Linked DNA regions of Homo sapiens: all the other regions are linked to region 1. The links are contacts of gene promoters, found by promoter capture Hi-C in blood cells and fetal thymus (Javierre and others, 2016). All regions are on one chromosome and are shown on one strand. The core of a region is centred on a gene start or on the middle of the fragment in contact, and the rest is flanking DNA. Distances in the headings are between cores, read along the strand shown. Region 1 holds the start of PKN2 (protein kinase N2). Region 2 has its middle 5.3 kb from the start of ODF2L. Region 3 holds the start of ZNF644 (zinc finger protein 644).

Region 1 (3,052 bases), core at 544-3,043:
CTAACTGTAATTAAAATACTACATAGCAACATTTTCAATTATATGAAATTCAGCTTTGCATTACCAAAGGATTCTAAATGTGCAACACTGCATTGATATACATTGTTAAAGTCTCTATTTTTGTGGAGGAAATATCAACCATTATACCAAAGTTTTCAAGCTTACGTCTGACTGCACAAGAAACCAAACTTATAAAGAGATTTCTTAAAAAGTATATTTAAACAAGAAATTTAGATGCAGTTGCAATACTTAATTTTGACATCAACTCTTCAGAATTTCTTGATTTAGTCTTTTTTTTAAAAAAAATTAACTGTCCAACACACAAAAAGAAATGCAGGCATGCTATTTTTTTCTCCTAATTCCCATCTACAATCTTTGAGTAGCTAAAAGATAACTATATTAAAATAAAGCAAAATAACTTTTAAGTCAAAAAACAAACATCTCTGGAACACTCCCAAGTAATGAAAAACCCGACAGGGTAGCTTAAGTCCCCATGTACACCATAGAGATCTAAAGAAAATCGTGCCTACATTATCAAATATTTATCTGGAAATGGGAAATAACATTGCTACTCGACATGACTTAACTAAGCGATCTACTTTGCTCTCATCTTTTGCAGACATGTGGTGCCCAATGTTTTCCCTTAGTCGACTGCTTTCTCATTAGTAAACAACTTATTAGCTCTTTCTCTGGTGCTCAAATGAGAGGGAAAATGAAAGTCTGAAAAGCATCAGCATCTGAGCTCCCGGATCTGGGCAGGGGTAGCAGAGAAAGGCACCCTGTATTTATCACTCGGTTAAAAAAAAAAAAAGAAAGGAAAAGAAAAGAAAAAGATAACCCTCAAAATAGAGGAAAGAAACTCTGTCACCTGAAGAGGGCTGCTGAAGTGAAGCAAACATTTGGTGAGACTCGTTTTTTAAAAAAACTTGTCTAGGGGCTGGAAGTTATGGGGGCGCTCTTTGTGCGGAGTCTGAGGGGAGGGGGAGGGACAAGAAAACAGCTTGGGAGTCATTCAAAGGAGTTTAAGGAGCGGTGTACGGAGGAAAGGCGGGGCGGGGCCCGGCCGCGCGAAGGGAGGGGGCAACAGGGGCGTTCGCGGGTAGCTCTGACACCGAGGGAGGGGGCGACGGGCCGGCCTCTCCGGGGACCAGGCGAGAGCAGGCTCCCGCTGCAGCAGGGCTGCAGAGATGGGGTCCCCTCTGGTAGGCAGAATCAAACCAAAGCGGTGGCAGGCCAGGGCTTTGGCGGGGGAGAGGGTCCGGCTCCCCAGGGAAGCGGTTCCCCGAGGGAAGCATTTCCCGAGTGACATCCCGGAGTTTCCGCACTTAGCGGGCTAGGGGCGCGGCGGCCGCAGGGCTTTCCTCGGTCCCCGACGCCGCGCGGGGCTCTCTCCCTGTCTCCTCCGCCAGCGCCTCTCACCAGGGCCGCGGCCCTTACCTGCAGTTCCGTGAGCAGAATCTCCCCCCGTTCGGGGTTGGACGCCATTGCGCTCCGGTATGGACTCCGCACCTGGACGCGGCCGCCTCTGGCGAAGGGAGAAGGCGGGACGGGGCTCGGGGTGGGGGTGAGGAGAGGGGAGAGAAAGAAAAAAAAAAAAACAACTAGGGATTCATGGAGGCGCAGCCCCTGCTGGAGGCGCGGCTTATTCCGTCCGGTTCATCGAGAGCGGCGGGGAGCTAGGGCACTCGTAGCGGGCTTCCTCTCGCCGCCCTCACCGGACTGTTCGTCTAGTCGCTCCCTCTGGGCGACGCCAGGAGCCGCCTCAAGCCTCTCCGTGCGGGCGCTGCGGCCGCGGCTGCAGCTCCTCCTGTCGCACCATTTGGCTGTCACCGCGTCGCAAAAGCGGCCTCACTTGGCGGCTGCCAGCACACGTGACGGCGGCAGCCACTGCCCCTCATCGGGCAGGGAAGGTGGGGCGGAGGGGTTCCCTAGGGCGAACGCGGCGAGGGGGCGGGGCGTCTTCCGACCCGACTCCGCGGCGAGGGCAGCCATTGGACTCGGCTGGGGTGAAAATGAGGGGAAAGGACTGGGCTCGAGTCTCTGGGGAGGCGGGAAGAGGAAGAAAACACACGCCTACTTTCCTGCTGCGTTTAACGGCTTCACTGTGAACGCTAGAACTCGGGAGCCTGCTCGCTGTTGTTTTTTCGGGTTTCGTTTTTTTTTTCTTTCTTTTTTTTTTTTCCCAGTTCCACCTTGCCGAAACTTGGGCCTAACTTTAACAGGCCCTTTTCTAACCTCCATAACCCAAAGAGCTTCGGGACTCAGATCTTACAGATTATTCCTCTGCTCTCCCCTTGACCCCCACGTCAACCCAAACTAATAATCTTGCCTTTTGCTCACCCTCAAACCCAGCCCCCAGCGCGCCTTCTCGACCAGTTAAGGTGCACAGCTAGCTAAACGGGTATGGTCTGTACTTTTCATGAAATGTAAGCGGCTGGATCCCTGGCAACTTTTAATGTACGGCCTTTAAGATGTCTTTTTCTTGAGGTTGAACTACTGTTGCTTGTACTGGAGAACTGTACAGAGCTGAGAATTAGCTGGGTTTTTTTGGGTTGTTTTAACTTTATTTAAGGGAGGGGGAGGTGGGACGGGATTACCCTCGGGAAAGGAAAAAAGCCACCTTTCCTTGGCGTGGTAAGCATTAAAGCTAACCTGACTACTTAGTAAAATATAGCTAAGTAAAGTAAATCTAGGTGTTTGTTTTTAATGACACTATGGTATTAAGGAATTTCGAAGTCTCCTACAGGTAGCTTTTGTTTTTGTTTTGTCTGAGCAGTGAATGGATAGGTAAACGCGTAACTTTTGATTTTTTGAAGCTGCGGTACAATACCTTTGTTAAAACTACCTGGAGAGAGTGGTAAGGGTTATTTAGGTACGTTGCTACTTAGAAAGGGCATTCGTTGACATATTTCTTAGGAAGTGTAACATTATGTACTTCTCACACGCTCCATGTAACTCTGTTGGCCTGATGCCAGGACTTAACGTCTATCCTTTTGCCTTCTCAAGTCTCATACATCAATTCAGCAAACATGTATTGAAGATCTGGAGTTCT
Region 2 (2,856 bases), core at 285-2,784, 2.3 Mb after region 1:
AGTGGACCCTCGCATTACTCCCTTCAATTAATTGCCTCAGCTTGCCATCTGAGCAATTGACAAGGATGTGCCAGGCCTAGGTTAAACTTTAAAACATGCTTAACCATTGTATTTCCTGATCCTTTCAGAACAGCTTTCTACATTTTGGTTTATGGGGCCCTCAAATATAGCTGGAAATTGAGTTAGAGGTATAAGAATGCCTTAAAATATGCCAGCTTATGAGGCCATCAATTAGGTTGGTTGGCTCCACAGTTAGCCTGCCAGGAATAGATACTATAGATGTTACTCTTACACTGTAAAACACTGTGAAATCAGATTACTTTTAAATGATGTATCACAAAGTCATGGAAAAAAGCAGTTGTGAGTATGGAATCCCAGGTCTTCTATCCCAGCTTGTTTTCACTCTGCCTGTAAAATGGGAGCTAATATCCTCCAGCCTGTCCGACTCACATGTTGGTTAAAAGGATTAAGCAAAATAATAGTTTGTAATTTATAATTCTATACAAAGCAAAGATATTATTTATAAAAGGGAGAGACATGAAAGAGCTTGCTTCCCTCCTCTCTCTACCATGTGGGAGTACGACAAGAAGGCATCCTTCTGCAAATCAAGAAGAGGGCCCTCACCAGGAACCAAATTGGCTGGCACCTTGATCTTGGTCTTCTCAAATTTCTGTTGTTTAAGCCACCCAGTCTATATTTTTGTTACAGCACTCCAAACTAAGACATGCGCTGATACTCTATCTTGTAAAGCAAAGTTGTTCTGTTGCCCCAAGACTTTGCTCAATTCTTGTCTGACTTGCCCTGTGGACAACCGTCTTTGTAGTAAATGGAGTCTAGCCAATTTTAAGACTTATATAAAACTACAGTAATCAAGAGAATGTCATGTAGGCAAATGTTTTGATTATAAATTATTAGAATAGAATGGATTGTCCAGAAATAAACACACACACACATGGTCTAATCATTTTCAACAAAAGCACTAAATTGATTCAATGGGGAAGAGAAAGTCTTTTAAATAAATGGTGGTACCAAATTGGGTATCTGTATAAAACAAAGTGAATCTTGACCCCTTACATCATTCCTAAAAAACTTAATTCAAGATAGGTCATATACTTACTTATAAAAGCTTCAAATAATAAAACTTCTAGAAGAAAACATAGCGACTTCACAAATGTGGAGTTGCGGTACATTAAACTATAAAAGAAAAATGCTGGTAAGTTAGATGTTTCAAATAAAAATTTTCTGCTCTTCAAAAGATACCATTAAGAAAATATATGAGAAATAGGAGGAAAGTATTAGTTACATATATCTGACAAATCGTTTTTCAGAATATGTAAACAACTCCTGAAAATCAACAATAAAACAACAATCCAAAAAAATGGGTAAAAGACTTGAACAACACTTCATAAATGATGTACGGTCAATAACTGAAAGGTGCTAAACATCATTCATTACCAAAAAAAACCACAAATTGAAATCCATAATGAGCTGCCACCTCACACCCCCTAGAACAGTTAAAATAAAAAATACTGCTGTACTAAATGTTGGCAAGGATGTGAAGCAACAGGAAGCATCATACACTGCTGGTAAAGTTAAACATACTTATACCCTATAACCAGTAATTCCACTCCTAGCTAAGAAAAATGAAAGCATATGTTAATAAAATGCGTTTTAAAGAATGCTTATAGCAGCCTTATTCATTAATAACTAGAAGCTGCCAACAACCTAAATATCTATCAACAGGAGCACTAATAAGCAAATTGTGGTATATTTACACAATGAAATACTACTATATAGTAGGCTGTTCTTACGTTGCTATAAAGAAATACCTGAGGCTGGGTAATTTATAAAGAAAAGAGGTTTAATTGGCTCATAGTTCTATAGGCTGTACAAGCATTGCACCAACATCTGCTGGGGTTCTGTGAGGGCTTCAAGAAGCTTATAATTATGGCTTACAAGAAGGTTAAGGGGAGCAACCACATCACATGATGAGAGCAGCAGCAAGAGTTGGGATTGGAGAGGTGCAACACACTTTTAAACAACAGGTCTCACATGAATTCAGACCAAAACTCACTTATCATCAAGGGGATGGTACTAAACCATTCATGAGGGATATGCCCCCATGATCTGACACTTCCAACATCAGACCCCACCTCCAACACTGGGGATTACATTTCAACATGAGATTTGGAGAGGACAAACATGCAAACTATATCAACTACTCAGCCAAAAAAAAAAAAAAAAAAAAAAACTACTAAACTATGCAACAACATGGATGAATCTCAATCTCAAAAAAAAAGAACAAACTACTAAAATATGCAACAACATGGATGAATCTCAATCTCTCTCTCTCGCTATATATATATATATATATTCATTCAAATATGTGGGTGTGTATATATATGTATATACACATATATACATATATACACACACACATGCCTATTTGAATGAAAGAAGTCAGACAAAAAGGAATATATATTGTGTGATTCCATTTATATGAACACCAAGAATAGGCAATATTAACCTCTAGTCATATAAATTAGAAAGTAGTAGTCTCTCTGTGTGTGGGCTAGGGGAGGATGGAGAGGCATGAGGGTAGTTTTGGTGAACTGACAAGCTACAGACAGATACAAATAAACACTTTGGACTGACATAAATGTTCTAAATTTTGTTTTAGGTATTATTTTCATGAGTGCATATAATTATATAATTGGCAAAAGTCATACTCTGAACATTTAATACATATGTACTTTATTGAATATAAATTATACAACCATTTAAAAGTGGCCTATAATCCTCAGGAATTAAGTAGTCACTGAAGGCATACCTTTGTTGGGAATGGCAGGAATGAAG
Region 3 (3,038 bases), core at 1-2,500, 2.3 Mb before region 1:
CTGGAGGCGAAAAGCGGGGAGCGGAGGGGGGCCGCTGGAGCCGAGTAGCGTACAGAGCGGCGTGTGACGCGGGGACGCCGCGTGCTCCCAACGTCGCCCCGGTTTGACGCACACGGCACCAAACTGTGAGTTTCAGGGGTTATTTGGTCAGATTCGCTGGGACCCGAGTGGGTTTCGGGCCTCTGGGCTGTGGCAGCGGCGGGACTGAGGGTGGCGGAAGAACTTGGGGGACCCGGCCTCCGGCTCTCGGGCCCGGGGAGCTACGCCCTAGGCTGGGTCCCAGCCATCCAAAAGGACGCATTTTGCCGCACAGGCTAAGATGGCGGCGGCGGCCGAGGAGGCGGAGTTGGTGCTACACAAGGAGCCCGGGCCCCGGGTTCGGGGAGGCGGCGGCCGCGGCGGTCGCTGGGGGCCACGGAGCCTGAGGTGAGCGGCGGCCGCCGCCGCGGGGCGGGACTCGGCGGGGGGATGGGGGGGGGGCTTTCCGCTGCGGCGTCGGAGGATCCGGTAGCGGACACAAAGGGGCTGAGCTGGGCACTAGACTTGGGGGTTTTGTTTAGTCACATGAAGCCGAGCAGCCAGTGAGCAGTAGGGGGAAGGGGCCGAGATCAGGCGGCTTGGGGAGCCTGGCGGTCGCCATTGCAATGCACTGAGTAACGGGGCGGGCCGAGAGCAGTCACCAACCCCTCTCGTTGAGGCTGCTCGGTTGTGGCCAGAAACGCTGGCTCTGGCATTAACTGTCTACACCCCTCCCCTTACTTGGGACAGGACCGCATAGCCCTCCCCTCCCCCCGTCCTGCAAGATCTTATGCGGCTAGGTGCCTGGGAAGTAACAGCAAGAGGTAAATCGCTCGAAGTGTTTGGGTTGCCAGGGGCTTGGTGGGTGTCCAGCTAAAGCTTTTTGCCTCTCCAGGTCTGATTCTCTGGCCTTTGTGTCCCTGGGAAGTTACTCTGCCAGAGGAAAGCAGGTGTGCTCCACTTCTCCCGTGAACCTGAAGATGAGTTGTCCCAGACTCTTCTCAGTGATTGGAAACTTAGGTGGTGGAGCTAAAGGTTACTTGTTACGAGACTTCTACAGACAACTCTTGTTGGGATCCATCTATGGTTTAGCAACATTAGTGGAAAAGTTTTCTTGAATATTGACTTTGAATATAAAAACGTTTATATTTAGACTTCAGATTTTGTGTGATCATCAAACTCAACGAGGGGATAAACATAATTGGGGGCGAATGATGGTCTTGTCTTGTTAATAATTTCAACAGAAGTATCACAACACCGCCGACTATCCTGTCCAGTCCTAATTCCACGCTTGTTGCATCTGGATGGTAGATTTGTTTTAATTGTGTATTCCCTCCCTGCAGTAGTTTGCTTTAGTTGTAAACATTTTTTGGTCCCATGAGAAGGAAAACATTTCAAAAAATAGACAACTAAAGTTTCTCAAAGAAAGGAAACCTGGCTGTTTGCCTTCAGTTGCATGTGTAAGTATCTAGGGAACTTGATGGCAGTAATATTGCATTTTGGTAGGCTTGCTAAGAAAAACCTCGTTTTTATAATAAGGCTATAATCTAGCTTAGACATTTTAATTGGTGAAGCATAAAGCTTGATTAGTATTAATGCAGTGGTATGTATTGCTTTTAAAAGTCTTACAATTTCTAACAAATTAAAGTTATACTGCAATTATATCATACTTTGTGTTGGTATTAACTCATGAAGTACAAAATTTTGAAACACCTAATGTTTTGTGTTGGCAATTAACAGAATTCCTTGGTTGGAGGGATATTTAAACACATTAGATCACTGTGTAGATCTCTGTGTTCAAACTGAAATTTGAATTTTTCAACATTAGTTAACTTTCATTTCCTTGTTCTTTTCAGATATATATTTTCTCTTTTTTTAGCTTCTAATACAGAACAGTCTTGTATTAATGAATAGGAGATGCATTAACATTAGCAAATGTATTCCTGGATCATAAAGTTTTACAGTGGAAGCAATATCAAAGAACAACTGCTCTTACCCTCCTCTTTTACAATATATTGAGGACCAGAGATGATTAAGTTAGTGGCATAATGGAAAATTGCCTTTCAGCCTCTACCCATTGCTGTTTGTATTTGTCATATTGCTGGGATGAGAAGGTGAATATCTACAACTAATGGTTAAAAAAACAAGGGAATGTTATTGAGAATACTTGTTAATTAAATATTGTTAGGTTCATGAGAACTTCTGTGACAATAAGTTAAAAACTTTCATATTGGCCTGGCACGGTGGCTCACGCCTGTAATCCCAGCACTTTGGGAGGCTGAGGCGAGCAGATCACGAGGTCAAGAGATCGAGACCATCCTGGCTAACATGGTGAAACCCCGTCTCTACTAAAAATGTAAAAATTTCCTGGGCGTGGTGGTGCCTATAGTCCCACCTACTCGGGAGGCTGAGGCAGGAGAATCACTTGAACCCGGAAGGCAGAGGTTGCAGAGAGCTGAGATCGTGGCACTGCACTCCAGTCTGGTGACACAGCAAGACTACATCTCAAAACAAAAAAACAAAAAAACTTTCATATTCTGTGGTTAACTTGGTTTTTAAAGTGACTTTCAGTGAAACAAAATCAGGTACAAAATACAGAAATATCAGATAGTTTCAGAGCAATGTTGCTTTTGAATTTTAAGGTTTTCCAAATGCAGTCTTGACCCAGAAATTGAAAAATTAAAAAACAACAACCAGGGACTTGATAAATTTCTTTGAAAGTTTGAAATAACTGCTGTTATTGCCAGTTATTATGTAGGAAAAGAAATGAGATCAATGCTGAAAATAATGGTGTCTTTCATTTTGTAATAGTGTTTTGGTTGGATAAACGAATGTGCCACTCAGAATGTTCCCTTTCTTTAAAACAACTTTTTAAGACTACTACTTCTACTGAGTGGTACCTCTAAGGTCTGTTAGGAAATTGAACAAGTAGTGACAGTCATTTATGGTGGAACCCTATAGTGATTTTTAACTTCTTTGAATGTCAGATTTAGCAAAAAGTTAAATTGTTTTAAGGTTTT

The links. The method cuts DNA at HindIII sites, captures the fragments that hold promoters and counts their contacts. A CHiCAGO score of 5 or more calls a contact.
Region 2: a fragment that was not itself captured here is called in contact with the fragment with the promoter of PKN2 in region 1 in 1 of 17 cell types (fetal thymus); the score reaches 7.0 in fetal thymus.
Region 3: a contact is called between a fragment that was not itself captured here and the fragment with the promoter of PKN2 in region 1, in 2 of 17 cell types (non-activated CD4 T cells and naive CD4 T cells). The highest score is 6.9, in non-activated CD4 T cells.

What each region holds. Positions count from the first base shown.
Region 1 is chr1:88,683,014-88,686,065 of GRCh38, reverse strand. It overlaps PKN2 (protein kinase N2), which reads right to left and starts at 1,793. Exons shown (of 22, transcript NM_006256.4): 1 at 1,438-1,793. The coding sequence starts at 1,485. It overlaps PKN2-AS1 (PKN2 antisense RNA 1), which reads left to right and starts at 862. Exons shown (of 4, transcript NR_110682.1): 1 at 862-902. RefSeq lists enhancers at 1,519-1,598, 1,629-1,958. The HindIII fragment of the contact is 6,383 bases long and covers 163-3,052 here.
Region 2 is chr1:86,400,147-86,403,002 of GRCh38, reverse strand. No RefSeq gene overlaps it. Among named protein-coding and RNA genes, the nearest start is that of ODF2L, 5.3 kb to the right of the region's middle. The HindIII fragment of the contact is 812 bases long and covers 1,129-1,940 here.
Region 3 is chr1:91,019,077-91,022,114 of GRCh38, reverse strand. ZNF644 (zinc finger protein 644) reads left to right here and starts at 80. Exons shown (of 6, transcript NM_201269.3): 1 at 80-125. RefSeq lists silencers at 1-90, 421-490 and enhancers at 1-273, 274-823. The HindIII fragment of the contact is 702 bases long and covers 900-1,601 here.